2 separate regions of the Homo sapiens genome follow, and region 1 is linked to region 2. The links are contacts of gene promoters, found by promoter capture Hi-C in human tissues and cell types (Jung and others, 2019). All regions are on one chromosome and are shown on one strand. The core of a region is centred on a gene start or on the middle of the fragment in contact, and the rest is flanking DNA. Distances in the headings are between cores, read along the strand shown. Region 1 has its middle 15 kb from the start of OR2T11. Region 2 holds the start of OR2M7 (olfactory receptor family 2 subfamily M member 7).

Region 1 (2,783 bases), core at 112-2,611, 300 kb after region 2:
CACGCACTTTAGTTAGACAACCCTTCCTCCCCGACCTGACGCGACACTAACTTGGGAGGTGGTGGTGTACCCAAAGGGCTCTGGGATTGGAAAACAGACATTGCGTGGGTGTAAGTGGGAAGTCTGCACCCTACATTGTGAAGCACACCAGCACGTTTCCCCAACGTGGGTTCTCAGAATGCTGGCAGCCCCCAGAAAGATTTGCAGAGGAAGCAGACCATACCAAAGAAAATACCTAGGAATACTGACATTTGAGGTTTCCAAAATAAGTCATTTACATCATAGTTTAGTGACTCCTACTCGTTAAGGCTTGTCCTTATCCAGAGACTAACATTAGGAGAGAGACAGGGATTACAAAACTTGAGGAAAGCTTCTAAAATAAAAGGCAGAAATCACACAAATCAGTGAAAATAAGAAGAAATACAGTATGCAGTAATTAGAGAAACTCTTTCTATAAAAGATAACTGACTAATCTGCTATGACAGATAAGAACATACAAACAGATATTAAACTAGAACAGGGTGTTTTAAACAGAGCATTGGAGAAATTTTTAAGAGTTCTTGAACATTTAGATTATGGCAGTGTAGACTGTAAAGTAGGACAAGACAGATGCAAAAGAAGGTAGAAGAAGAGATCCAGTTTGTGAGTCAGGAGGCAAATCAAGTAATAAAAATTCCAGAGGAAAAGAATGTTTTAGATGGAAGGAAAGCACATATTTCAGTCATGTTTCAGAGCAAAAATTCTGGAATTGAAAGACACGTTTCAAGATTAAAAGGTTCATCAATTGCCCAACATAATTGTTAAAAAGAGCCCTTATGAAGACATTATGAATGTTTAACACGACTGCCAAAGGAGAGCCTGAAGCCTCCAGGGGACGACAACACAACTAAAATTGAGAGCATGGAACTCCCAGGAGAAATACTGAATGTTAGAAGACAATGGAGGAGGGACATCCTCATATTCATGAGGGAAAGCTTTTTTCAACCTACACATTGACACCTGGCCAGATCTACTGTCAAAGTGGGAGGATAAAAAAAGTCATTTTCAAACATGCAAGGCCTTTAAAAAATTTCCTCCCACGTACTTTGTTTATAAACCTGTTGAAAGACATGCTCCACAATGGGGAGGTTTTAAAGTAGAAGACGTGGTACACAGACAATCAAGAATCCAGAGGGTCATGGGGAAGAGGCAGCATCTCAGGAGGAGCCCCGTGCAGCGCAGCCCATCTCTGGGGCAAGCAGCCTGGATGGAAGCGGCAGAGCAGGGGCTGCAGAAGAGGGAGGGCTGTGAAGACGGCACCGAGAATTCCTGAGGGAGTCACAGTTTCAACAGGATATTTATCAGAAGGAGATTCTATATACATATATATATATACACACACACATACACATATATATAGAGATTAGTCAGTTTTCTTTCATGTATACATATATATGTATATATACACACACACCCATATATATGTATATACAAATACATATATCTCCTAGCTACTGGGGAGGCTGAGGTGGGAGGATTGCTAGAGACCAGGAGCTCAATCTCTTTCTTGACCCAGCTGGTCAAGAATGATTACCAACCCTCAAAACCTGTCCTGTCCCCACTCAGTCACCAAAGTGATTGTGACTCTGACTTCTGACATGGTATTCTATCAGTGTCAATCTTCCATCTCTGCTCTTTAGACCTATCTGCCTCTCAGAGCATGCTCACAGGAGACTGAACCACACAACCTGCTTGTGCCCCTTAGAGTCCTCTTGTAGCCCAGCTTGCCCTCTGCACTTGCTCTTCTGCATATCACTGATGGCAGCTAGTTTTGGGACCTTGTTCACCAAGTCAGGTTTTGAGAGGTGAAGTCAAATTTTGTTCATAACTACTCTAGGCTCTTCATTAATGGCTGGGACTCTGGAAATAAGCTCATTCTGATGGAAAGGCTAATAAGGAATCTGTTTTCTTTTTAAAAATTCTTTTAATCTTCCCATTTTTGTGTCTTTTCTCTTTACTGGTATTTGAAATGCACATCTTTGTAACCAGGTCACAAGAATGATTTTGCTTGGATTGTTTGGTGGCCTCAGACATAGGGTTCAGAAGCATCTTTCAATGTCATTATCTTTTTATCAGATCTTGAATTGCTTATTTGTTGTTTGTGTATGTTTATGTCCATGGGCACTAATATGGGTTCTTCTCACTACAAAAATCAGGGTCCCCTTCCTAAAATTCCGGCTAAATACTAAAGGGTTTTAAACCAAAAGTAAAATTCTAAGCCTCCCTCAACCATCTGAATAGGGCCCTCGTCTCAGCAAAGGCATTCCAAAGTTAACCTGATAAACTAGTTCAGGCCATGATAGGAAGGAAGAGCTTGACATGCCTCAGGATACCCTCCCTCCCTTTTGGAATTACTGATAGAACAGATTCTTTAAGACTTAAGTCTAATTAAAAAACATTTACAATCTTCTCTCTGAAGCCTGCTTGTTGGAGGCCTCATCTACAAGATCAAGTCTTGGTCTCCACAAACCCTTACCATAACCAGACATTTCTTTCTACTGATAAACAACTCTTTCAGCTAATTGCCAATCAGAAAATCTTTGAATCTGCCTCTGACTTAGAAACTCCTGCTTCCAATTGTTGTGTGTTTCCAGGTCAAACCACTGTACATCTTATACATGTTGACTGATGTCTTATGTCTCCCTAAAATGCGTAACACCAAGTTGTCCGGCCACCTCAGACCCGTGTTTCTCAGGATCTTCTGAGGGTGGTTCCATGGGCCATTGGTCACTCATTTGGCTCAG
Region 2 (2,700 bases), core at 192-2,691:
TTATACAAAGTGAAGTCACACAGGCATGGAAATCCAAACATCGTATATTCTCACTCATATGTGCCAGCTAAGCTATGAAACACCAAGGCATAAAAATGATACACTGGACTTGGGGACTTGGAAGAAATGTTGGGGACTGGAGAGGGCTAAAAGACTACACATTAGGTACAGCGAACACTGCTTGGTTGATCGCTGCACTAAAATCTCAGAAATCACCATTAAAGAACTTATTAATGTAACCAAACACTATGTGTTTCCCAAAATGATAATGAAATTTAAAAATAAAAATGGAATGTCTTTATTGAAAATGCCTTATATTGTAGTCATAACTGAATTGAATATTAAAAAATCTAAAATAGTTTATCTGAAATAAATTATACTGGTACCCATCAATATGTTGAGCAATGCACACAATTAGTGATATTTTTAGGACTTAATAGAAAAAGAGAGACAATAAAAAGAAGACGTTAGCAGACAGCAAAACATGAAATTTATGAGGTAACTCAATCTCCAGACTTGCCCTTTCCTAAGATTTTCATTAATGCTCTGGTCACTTCCTTGTTGCGGAGGCTATAAATGAGAGGATTCAGCATGGGAGTGACGATGGTGTAGAATACAGACACCATCTTGTCCTGCATAGGAGAATGATGAGATGTGGGCTGAATGCACATGAACAAACCTGCTCCATAGTACATTCCCACCACCATGAGGTGAGAGGAACAAGTAGTAAAAGCTTTGCGACGTCCCTCTCCAGATCCCATGTGAATGACAGCCAGAATAACTCGAGCATAGGAAGTGATGATGATTGCAACAGGGAAAACAAGCATTACTATACAGCAGATGAAAATAACCTCTTCAAATATTGATGTGTCATTGCATGAGAGGATTAGTAGGGAAGGGAAGTCACAGCAGAAGTGGGCTATTTCCCGAGACCCACAGTAGGAGAAGGAAAATGTCGCTACAGCATCAATGATTCCATCTGTAGAGCCCAGGATCCAGGAGAAGGCAGTCATAAGTCCACAAATTTTGGGTCTCATGAGATTGGTGTATCTTAGAGGGTGGCAAATGGCAGTGTAGCGGTCATAAGACATAACAGCCAACAGAAAGCATTCGGAGCCAAGCAATGATATATAGAAGAAAATTTGTGTGGCACAGCCAGCCATAGAAATGGACTTGCTGCCAGACAAGTAGTTGAAGGCCATCTTGGGTACAGTGGTGCAGATGAGCATGAGGTCCATGAGGGACAGTTGGCTGAGGAGGAAGTACATGGGGGTGTGGAGCTGGGTATCCAGGTAGATGAGGAGAACCATGATGGAGTTTCCCATGAAGGCCACTGAAAAGATGGCCAGGACCAGAAAGAAGAGGAAGGTGTGGGTGGGGCTATGATTGAAGATTCCCAGGAGGAGGAAGTCAGAGTTGAAGGTCTGATTCTCCCATGCCATGATGAATATGCCTGTTACCTAGCACCGCAAAAACAGTTCATTAATTTGATAAACATTTACCCAGTGCCTTATAAAGCATGTGATTATGGTAAATTCTGTAGTTTGGTGATCAATACAGGATGGCCAGAATTATAAAACTCAAAGTTTAAGAATTATGGAATCATAAAGAAATATGTTCTCTCAGCAGTGTCTCACTTATAAAATTATGGAGCTTGTCCTAACTTTTCTTCTAAGCATTCTTTTTCTCCATTGAAAAATTACAATAACAATATCTACTACATGATCAATGGAGTTTTTCCAAAAAGAATATGTCTCCAAAGCAAACAGTTCCTAAAACATCAGAAGCCTGTTACAGGTAAATTGATAGAGAAATTCAGGTTCAGTCACCATGTGACCAACACAATACTAGAAATGGACAATAAATTTGTGCCTTTATTCACATGATAGTAGGCATTTTTCCTACCAGAGTTAAGAAAATGTGTATGTTTACCTATTACTTTACAGTTTAAAGTATTTTATCTATACTTTATAGTAAGTTTTCTATACAGTAAGTGGATTCACTGAAAAGATTTTCAATTATACAAATCTAAGACATATGCTCTTTTTTCTATAGCCCAGTGTGATGCATTGAATTATGTTTCTTCCCCAAAAGATAGCAAGTGAGCTTGTTTAGAAATACATAAAGGGTATAATTAGTTAAGGTGAGGTCAAGTTGGAGCAGAGTGGGTCTCTCTAATTCAATATGACTCATGTTCTGATAAGTGGGTGGCCATGTGAAGACTGAGACACTGAGGATACCATGTGATAGGGGAGGCAGGGATTGGAGTGGTGCATCTACAAATCAAGAAATGCCAAAAACTGTTAGTTATAACAGGAACCTGGGAGAGAGGAATGGGACAGATTCATCCTCTTAGAGCCCTCAGAAGTGTCCAACCCTGCTGACAACTTGATTTCAGATTTCTAGACTCCAAAACTATGAGAGAATAAATTTCTATTGTTTTAGGTAACCTGTTTGTGATTTCTCTGTACTGGCATTCGTAGGAAATTAATACATCCAATATATCCTATAGAAAATAAGTAGATATAAAAACAGAAATTAAGAAAAGCATGAGATTCATCCTTTCAACAACATTTATGAAGCCTGGCTATGTGTTGATCACTGGGGCTACCACAGTGACCAGAATAAAGAAAGCCCGTGTCCATACAGGTCATAGTGAGTGTGATCAGATGATGATTATAAAACACTTTATGTCATAAG

The links. Contacts are between HindIII fragments. The study calls those that stand out against the background at their distance.
Region 1: a fragment that was not itself captured here is called in contact with the fragment with the promoter of OR2M7 in region 2 in 3 of the 25 tissues and cell types used here (mesendoderm cells, neural progenitor cells and thymus).

Annotation. Positions count from the first base shown.
Region 1 is chr1:248,618,221-248,621,003 of GRCh38, forward strand. No RefSeq gene overlaps it. Among named protein-coding and RNA genes, the nearest start is that of OR2T11, 15 kb to the right of the region's middle. The HindIII fragment of the contact is 7,017 bases long and covers 1-2,783 here.
Region 2 is chr1:248,323,127-248,325,826 of GRCh38, forward strand. It overlaps OR2M7 (olfactory receptor family 2 subfamily M member 7), which reads right to left and starts at 1,442. Exons shown (of 1, transcript NM_001004691.1): 1 at 504-1,442. The coding sequence starts at 1,442. The coding sequence ends at 504. The HindIII fragment of the contact is 10,500 bases long and covers 1-2,700 here.